Linked DNA regions of Homo sapiens: regions 1 and 3 are each linked to region 2. Evidence: promoter capture Hi-C in 16 types of primary human blood cells and fetal thymus (Javierre and others, 2016). All regions are on one chromosome and are shown on one strand. Each heading gives the region's core, a stretch centred on a gene start or on the middle of the fragment in contact. The rest is flanking DNA. Distances are from core to core; before and after follow the strand shown.

Evidence for each region. The method cuts DNA at HindIII sites, captures the fragments that hold promoters and counts their contacts. A CHiCAGO score of 5 or more calls a contact.
Region 1: a fragment that was not itself captured here is called in contact with the fragment with the promoter of SAMD7 in region 2 in 2 of 17 cell types (total B cells and naive B cells); the score reaches 5.4 in total B cells.
Region 3: a fragment that was not itself captured here is called in contact with the fragment with the promoter of SAMD7 in region 2 in 2 of 17 cell types (naive B cells and total B cells); the score reaches 5.6 in naive B cells.

The regions. Positions count from the first base shown.
Region 1 is chr3:169,974,266-169,977,529 of GRCh38, reverse strand. SEC62 (SEC62 preprotein translocation factor) reads right to left here. Exons shown (of 8, transcript NM_003262.4): 2 at 1,814-1,922; 3 at 479-584. Among named protein-coding and RNA genes, the nearest start is that of SEC62, 9.1 kb to the right of the region's middle. The HindIII fragment of the contact is 1,521 bases long and covers 524-2,044 here.
Region 2 is chr3:169,909,931-169,913,052 of GRCh38, reverse strand. SAMD7 (sterile alpha motif domain containing 7) reads right to left here and starts at 1,481. Exons shown (of 9, transcript NM_001304366.2): 1 at 1,232-1,481. The HindIII fragment of the contact is 322 bases long and covers 1,314-1,635 here.
Region 3 is chr3:169,998,854-170,001,998 of GRCh38, reverse strand. No RefSeq gene overlaps it. Among named protein-coding and RNA genes, the nearest start is that of SEC62, 34 kb to the right of the region's middle. The HindIII fragment of the contact is 567 bases long and covers 1,214-1,780 here.

The DNA of each region.
Region 1 (3,264 bases), core at 35-2,534, 65 kb before region 2:
AGGTAGATGTTGCAGCTTCCTTGATTTTAGAAGAAATACTACATTAGCAAACACTGAACCAAATAGGAAAGGGTATGAGGCTTATGGCTCAGGGTGCAGGCACTAAAAAAGTAGCGGTAACACAGCTAATAGGAATTCCTGCAAAAGTTTTGAAAAAAAGACTCCTCAACCAATTTGCTCTACAAAAGAAAAAACTTTCTTTTCTACTGTAGGCACTGGTATATGACTTTTGTTGCTGACCCTTCAGTAGGGCTCACAAATATATAAAATAGAACATAAATAAAAATTATATACAGTTAAAAGTATAATAGTCTAATACCAAACACATTTCCAGAGGTACCAAAGAAATCAGGTTACATGTGAAAACAGTATTTGAGTTATGTTGTAGTATCACTACATTTAATGATGTAAGGAGCTTCAGGACTATGAAGAAAATTTAAAATTATTATGTTATTCTTCACTAAGAAATAAACAGTACCTGTTGCAGTAGTCAACCACAGACTCCCTGGTTGTAAATAAAGCTTCCTCTCCTTTCTTGGCCTTTGCCCACTTTGAATCCAAAAGACAGTCCACTGCTTTTGAAGCTAAAGAAGAAATTCATTATTTTAAATTTAGCATACATGGGGATTTATGTCTATCTAAATAATATTTTATAAAGTAAAATTTCAACACTCTGGCAACAAAAAAGAAAACCAAACTCAACAGAAAACTAAATCTAACATGATCATGATTAGTAGTTCCCCAAAACCTCAACTTGTGAACTATATTAAGTATCTTTTAAAAGTAATGTTGGGAAATAATGGCATTCAGAAAGACCAACTAAAGCAAGTTAAATTAATGGGGAAATATTCAAAAATTTAAAATATCTGTATGTAACTATCACTCTTATTAATCACAAGCATATGTAGATAAACCAAAATGTTCACCACTCCCTGCAAGTAATAAAAATTCTCATCAAGTTTTACTCTAATACACTGAGGAAGAAGCTCTGTCAACAATCCACTGCTGTCACAAGAAACAGCTAAACATATTATATCTGAAGAGATTAGCACATCTACTTTTTAAAACTTGTAATGAATGTCAAATCATTAAAAACAGTAAAGAAAGAGACGATAAAGGACTTTTCCTCTACACTGGCAATTTAGTTTTTTTTTTCTTCTAAGAGACAGGTTCTTGCTCTGTCACCCAGGCTGGAGTACAGTGGTGGGATCATAGTTAACTGCAGCCTCTAACTCCTGGGCTCAAGCCATCCTCTCACTTCAGAGGCGCATGCCATCATACTCATCTAATTTTTTTGTAGAGATGGGGTCTCATTGTGTTGCATAGGCTGGTCTCGAACTCCTGGCCTCAAGCAACCCTCCTGCCTTGGCTTCCCAAAGTGTTGGTACTATAGGTGTGAGCCACGACACCCAGCTGCAATTCACTTTTAATTGATGAGAAAGGCAAACTCAACCCCTACTTATAAGCTCTGGTGTTATAAATGACATCAGCTTATAATGACATTGTTTGGGGAAAAAAAGCCAGTGCTCTTAGTTCCAAGTACGCATACTATCTAAACAAAAGGTAGTATTTTAAAACACTGAAAATAAATCCTATTTAAAAAAATTTCCAACAATTGTTATTAGAAAACATGTTATCTTTTTATTATAGACATTTTCAATCATAAAAGAAAAGAACAGAATAATCAACTGCCATATGTCCATCACCAGAACAATCACATTTGGAAAGCACTTTTAAAACTTCTACATATCCCAAATGTAGGTTAACTTCATAACATATGTACACTAATACGATTTTACTGATATAATCCTACCAATAAAATAATCAACCCGGTGACCCATCATATTGGTGGACTTTGTTGGACAGTTGAATCGAAGATACTTGGCCACAGCCTTCTCTTCTTTAGATGGTTCACCAACTTCCTGCAACATATGAATATTAATTTAGTATAATCATATACTTGAGAAATTCATGCGCTGAATAATAATTTACAAATCTATTTTATGAATCTTTTCAAGTGGAGTACAGGCCTTGCTTTCAAGCTTTCTCTGGAGCGACCTAATAAAGTATTCAAAAGACAAAAATGGAGATTTAAAGAAACTACGTTTTTCAAATATAAGTTGATAGAGGCAAAGCCTGTCTGCTTCTTGGCTTCAACTATGAGGCATTTGAGTTGTTTTTTCCACAATGGTAACTACTTTGTACCAGTTCACTTTCATTCTTATACGGTCTTTTTTTTTTTTTTTTTTGAGATGGAGTCTCACTCTGTTGCCTAGGCTAGAGTGCAGTGGTGCGATCTCGGCTCACTGCAACCTCTGCCTCCTGAGTTCAAGTGACTCTCCTGCCTCAGCCTCCCAAGTAGCTGGTATTACAGGTGCCTGCCACCATGCCCAGCTAATTTTTGTATTTTTAGTAGAGACAGGGTTTCGCCACGTTGGCTAGGGTGGTCTTGAACTCCTGACCTCAAGTGATCCGCCAGCCTAGGCCTCCCAAAGTGCTGGGATTACAGGCGTGAGCCATCGTCACCGGCCTATAGTCTCTTTTTATAAGCCACAAAACAGTAATTAAAAAGATAAGATGTTGCTAATAGTGAGTATCCAAATGTCAAAGTAAGTAGAAACAAGTGTCATAAATAAATGTTAAAATAACAGCCAAAGATATGTATCCTGAACAATGGACAACAGATCGCAGAAGGAGTTCTCAAATTAATCAATGACAGCTGCCCCCAATGTGGTAGCCATAAGAACTACTGACACAATGACAATTTGTATTCTCTTTCCTTTCCCCCTGTGGCTGCAGATACCAGACACTCCTGGGACTGTCTTTCTCATCTTCTCTTCTCCAGTAAGGGTGAGGCAAAAATGAAAAATGCAAAAAGAGTTATTACTATCTCATTTGAAGAGGTGATTAATGGAAGTGCACTGACAAAGAGTCGTTTTGGAAAGGCCGTTTTAATCCTTCTCTGCTTTCTTTCTTCTATATCTTTTCCCAAATTTTCTATTATTTTCTTCATTGTTTCTCATTCCCCATCTTCCCTTTATTCCCTTTCATTCTGAACTTCTTTGACAATTCCTCCTGTGAATTTATTTTCCCTACTCACGTACTGAAGAAAATGAAGGCAGTCTATCTTTGTATACATCTTATGTATAAACTTTCAAAAGCTGTCTTATTGCTGTAAGCTATTGAAACAAATGCACTGTACTTAATTACTGTCTATAATTGCATGCTTAAGCACAATACACAGAACATTCAGTATTTCCAGCA
Region 2 (3,122 bases), core at 232-2,731:
CCTGGCTTCTTGCGAGTTTTCTTGGCCTTCTCTTAGGCAGTACCCCAACAACTCCAAAGTAATTCCTCCTACTTATGTTTTGCAGAGGCCTTTGTAGTCCATCTCCTCCAACTCTCTCTGAGCACAACCCAAATAGGCCTTCTCCTGGGTCCCTCCATATCTTGCTCCCCTTCCCATCTCTGCCAAGGACGGAGGAGAACTTTAGAAAGACAGTTCATACCGAAGCACTTGGCAGTGCTGCTAAAATGTATTTCACTTTTCCTAAAGGCATAAGCTTTAGGACTTTTCTAACTGCATTTCACCATAGCACATACCCTGGAAAGCATTGAAGACAGTGGGTTACGTGCTGGCTGCTGTCACTTCTTATTTCTTTTTACTCTGGAAGCTCATTTTCATTAGACCTATCCATGTCTTCTTGAAATGTCAGGTTCTAGGCACAATTACAAGTATTGTAAAGAAAAAGGTAAACCTTTGACATCATTAAAGAAGTCAAAATTATGTAATTTCTACTGGACTCAATATAATTTATGTGCAACTACAGTTTGTATAAATTATGTTCACTTTCTTCAAAAGATTGTGAAGCAAAGTCCATTATATATAAATCTGTAGAGACTAAAGTGAAATTCTAGCAGTACTCATATAATGGAACTGAATAGTAGGTGTTTTAGTTAGATAGTCTTAAAGAATGAATTAAGGAATATCAATATAGATTTTATTTCATGATTATCATTGATTGTTCCTCAATGTTTTTCTGAAATTTTCTACTCTGACATTTCATGGTTCATACATCATGACAATTTTTGGAATATAGATATCTATAGTAATGGGGGGCCATTAAAATAATAATATATAGTAAATAAACAGCAGTAATACATAGAGGTAGGTACTTCATCTGTTTGAAGATAATAAAACTACAGTAAATTTACATACAACTTTGAACTGACTTTATCTTAAATAAACTTCATTTTACTTTCACTTAAAAAACTCCAAAAACTAAGACCAGGCAGTGTTTATTTGGTAGGAGTGGTATATCATCTTTACTCGTTAGTAACTTCAGTCAAGTAGGAATTTATTAGCTCACATACTGTTAGTAATAGCCAGTAAAGTCTACACATAAACCTAAGCATTTCCTTTAAGATAAAGATGTCCTTTTATTTTATATGTGAAACATTTTACTCAGAGTAACTGGCCTCAATTTTGGGCTAATCAATGTGTAGAGTTACATACTTACATCCTCTATGAAGACTTCTTGTCTTTGATATTGCAGATGGAAGAACCATACAAAGACTTTCTGGCCTTCAACTGCAGAAGCTTCTCTGGCTGCGGGTTGAAAGGTACATCTGACAATTCTTTCAAAAATGGTCTTAATTCAGTTTAACCTTGCTTTAAATACAAATTCAACTAAGTTGATTAGTCCTATTTCATGACAGAAACTTTGCCCTCTGATATCCTCTACAGATAGGCTAAAAGATGTTAAGCCCAAGGAAAGTGCCCTGCAAGGTGCATAAACCTGTCTCAGAGCTTAGCCTTTAGTGTAATCCTTCCTTAGCCTTTAAGATGCTTTGTGGGCATTCACTTAATACCACTGTTCAACTTGACACAAAAGAAATATACTATGCAAATAAGTAATAAGCTTTTCTTTGATGGAACTATATAGCCTATTCCATATTTCCAACAGGTTTCAAGTGGAAACATTTCTTTTGCGAGTAGGAAAAAACCTAAGTTATTTTCCACAGAGCTGAAACATTTGATGAAAGATGGCAGTCTATTTTAAAAAGAAGCTTCTATAATGGACAACTGTACTTTAATTCTCACAGGCAGTGAGAAAACCCTTTATCATCTGTGTGAGAGCTGTGATCTATATAAGAGGGAAAACACGGAATTTTGAAAATGTGACCTGTTATATTTGCTAGAGAAACATTTATAGCTTGAAAAAGAACATCCATATTTTTTGATTCCTAGTAATTTACTAGTAGGAAGTACAAAATAAGAATTGAATATAAGAAATTTAAGTTGTGTTTCAAGTAATGCTTTAGGCTTCCAGTTTGAAGGTAACCTGCTCCTTTGTTGACACACATTTTTATCATTGGCTGTTGAACTCATTATAAGAAATAGCATGTGGAACTGACTGTATTTATTCCAGGGTTATTGTTCATAAAGCAGTGGTCAACAGCAGGGACTTAGATGACCAACAGACTCAATAAGCCTCAGCACCACCACTCATTAGCTGTATGGCCTGGCCAAGTTACTGAACTTCTCTGAGCCTTAGTTTCCTCATCTCAGAAGAGCCCTTCTTGGGAAAGGGAAGGCAACAAGGTAGACAAAATGCTTGAATAGTTCTCACTAAACATTAGCCATTATGTTAGGTAACTATATTGCACAGAGTCCTCTGTTGAGGATCCATGGGAGGAATTTTTCTCAGCTTGTAGTACTAGGGACAATTGTTTTGTTGTTGTTATTGTTGTTGTTGTTGTTCTGAAAAATAAGGCCAAAATAAAACCTCAGGAATCACGTAACTAGTGTGTTGCATTCTTTGTGTTGGTTAGTAGGAAGTTCAGGACCTGCCTTTAGGCATGCATTTTATTATATTTTTATTTATTTATTTTTGAGACAAGTTCTTGCTCTGCCACCCAGGCTAGAGTGCAGTGGCACAATCATGGCTCACTGTAGCCTCTATGTCCCCAGACTCAAGCAATCCTCCCACCGTAGCCTCCAAGTAGCTGGGACCACTGGTGCACGACCGCATGCCTGGCTAATTTTTTTTCTGTATTTTTTTGTAGAGACAGGCTTTCGCCATGTTGCCTAGGCTGGTCTTGAACTCCTGGACTCTAGCAATCCACCCACCTCGGCCTCCCAATGTACTGGGATTATAGGCGTGAGCCACCATGCCCAGCCTAGACATGCATTTTAAAACCAGAAATGATCTATGGCTTCATCTTATTTTTCCTAACATTATTTTCCCTTTGCCCTAATTTTTACTAAACTGTCTTTCTTGTGTTGTATATGCATTTTGAAGTGTCTCATAAATTATTAGCATTTATAATATTTATGCATACAGTTTTTGTTTTTTTTTGTTGTTGTTGTTTGTTTGTTTTTTTGAGACAGAGTCTCACTCTGTCACC
Region 3 (3,145 bases), core at 248-2,747, 89 kb before region 2:
CTTCAGGTGACTTGCCTTCTGAGTATTGCAGAGAACTGCCATTGCCTCCTGAGAAAAGCAGTCTACGGTCTGTGCTGGGAGTCTCAATGGCATTCCTCTGTCTGGTCACCGCATCCCTCTCAATCTGTGTGGTGGGGAATAAAGAATGTGAGGTGGCAATGGGGCTGAACATTCGAGCTCATTTTCCAGGAGTTGGTTCCCTTCTATAGGAACATTATCCGTGTATAATCGTGGCTTGGCATTGATGGAACTGTTCAAACAAACATGTCATGCTCCCACCAATACTGTTAATAAGAAACTTTGGGTGGAGGCAGAGGGAAGCACGAGACATCTGAATCTTGCATATGTTTTCTTTTTTTGACGGAGTCTCGCTCTGTCGCCCAGACGAGTGTAGTAGTGTGATCTCGGCTCACTGCAGCCTCTGCCTCCTAGGTTCAAGCAATTCTCCTGCCTCAGCCTCCCGACTAGCTGGGACTACAGGTGTGCACCTCTACACCCGGCTAATTTTTGTATTTTTAGTAGAGACAGGGTTTCACCATGTTGGCCAGGATGGTCTTGATCTCCTGACCTCATGATCCACCTGCCTCGGCCTCCCAAAGTGCTGGGATTACAGGTATGAGCCACCACGCCCGGCTGCATATGTTGTTTGTTAAGTAGTGAAATTTGCAATCAGTCCTTTGGAAGGAGACTAAATTAGGGGTGGGATGGAAGGTGAGATAGAAGACAGCATATGCGATTGAAAAGTGGAGAATTCTGATGGTTCTTTTATTAAAGGACAATAAGAAAAAAAGTTATTAAGAATAGGGTTTCAATTTTGTAATTGAACCCTGTGGAGTATATGCAACTAGAAAGATGGGATAGAGATGCAACTTGCTTTGCTTTATATAGTATCCAACCACTCTTTATAGCTGTGCAGTCTGTCAGATATTGTCCAGACTCTGTAAGTACAGACCAGTTTCTGCAGTTACTGCTCTTGTTTTCAAGAGCCTTGTTGTGTACTAATTTACTTGTTACTGCCCTTTATTTTTTTCTTTGCAGTGCAAAGTGCCATAATTGTTAAAGGTGTATGTATTTGAGGATATGGCAAGTTAATAATAAATTCTTCCTTCTAATCCCCTCGAATGTTGATCATTAAAAACACTGTAATGTGAAATACTTTGTAACATGCATTTACTATATACTTAGTCTAAGGATAACTTCACAATCTGAAGCTTGAAGTTGGTGAGCAGAAATACAATTTAAAATCATAAGCTGGTCAATAATTTGTTCTTCTGAAAAAATGGTGTCTTTGGTTCCACACAACATGTTCTTTTTCCAGATCGTTAATTTCTGAATACTCTTAATATAAAGTATACATGGTATGATCCCATTTATTTACTATCTCCTCACCTCAGTGAACAGAGACATACATGTTACACATATAAGAGCTATAGAAGGATATATATGAGTTTTAACAGTAGTTGTCTCTGAAGGTAGGTGCTATGGTTTCAATGTCCCCCTCAAAACTCATGCTGAAATTTAATTGCCATTGTGATGATATTAAGAGGTGGAACCTTTAAGAGGTGATTAGGCCATAAGGGCTCTGCCTTCACAGATGCATTGTTATTATCATGAGAGTGGGCTTGTTATAAAAGCCAGTTCAGCCCCCTCTTGCTCACTGGCTTTCATCTTGTCTTGCCCTTCTGCCTTCCACCATGGGATGCAGCATGAAAGCCCTCACTAGATCCCAGTGCCATGCTCTTGGACTTCTCAGCCTCCAAACTCATGAGTCAAATAAGCTTCTTTTTTTTTTTCTTGAGACAGAATCTCACTCTCTTGCCCAGGCTGGAGTGCAGTGGTGTGATCTCAGCTCACTGCAACCTCTGCCTCCTGGGTTCAAGCGATTCGCCTGTCACAGCCTCCCAAGTAACTGGGACTACAGGTGCACACCACCACACCCAGCTAATTTTTATATTTTCAGTAGAGTCGGGGTTTTGCCATGTTAGCCAGGCTGGTCTCGAACTCCTGACCTCAGGTGATCCACCCGCCTTGGCCTCCCAAAGTGGTGGGATTACAGGCATGAGCCACCATGCCCTGTCAGTTTATTTTCTTTATAAATTACCCAGTCTGTGGTATTCTGTTATAGCTACACAAAATGGACTAAGACAGTAGGTTTGTGAGTTTTCTGGTTATTTTTGCTTATAAGTTTCTGATTTTTCCGTAATAAGAAAATAAATTGTTTTTAACAACAAGAGGGGAGTTGTGGTTAGAATGTGTAAATCTGAGAAATACTGGAAGTATCCAGAAAATATCTAAGCCTTGCTCCTTGCCATGCCATTTTCTATGTGATTAGTGTAGTCTAAGATGCAAATCTGAATGTGTCACTCTCCTGCTTTGAGTCAATCTGCTCCAAAGGTATTTTAGTGTCACTGTTCATACTTACTGTGTGCAACTCAGTCATCTTTCAGTTCCCAGTGACAGAAATCTCATTCAAAATAACTGAGAAAAAATGATGAATCTGTTGGCTCATGCAACTGAAAAGCCCAGGGATGGCTTTAGGCCAGGCTAGATCTGGGAGTTCAAAGATGGCATTAAGGCCTTGTCTTCCTGATCCACCCTTGGTTCTGTTTTTTTCATGTTGGTTCTATTTCTAGACAGGCTCCATTCATGTGAAGGCAGCATAGCCATTGGTTTCTTCAGGTCCACATGGTCCTTGGAATTCAAGACCCCTGAGTAAATGAGAAGACTTCAATTGGCCTGGTGTGAACTGAGTGCTCATCCTTGAGGCCAGTCACCGTGGAATGGAATGAGGAGCACCACAGAAGGGAAAGGAATATTTTCTAAAGGAAGGGATTCTGGTCAAACAATGACTTGCCACCTGTATCCCTCTCTAAACGTTTCTCTTTTCCAGCTGCACCTTAACTAGTTTCAGTTTCAGGGGATGCCATGCTCACTCTGCTGTCTTATTTTTGCACATCTTGCTGCAGTGGCCCAAAATTCCCCTAGTCTTTACTTGGCTAATACCCACTCATTCTTCAAGATCTAGCTCATGATACTTCTATGGGATGCCTTTCCTGACCTTCCTAATCTGGGCTGGGTATTCACTTATGTGATCTCATAAGCACGTCACAGATACTTTTGACATTACACAACACCATTGCCACTG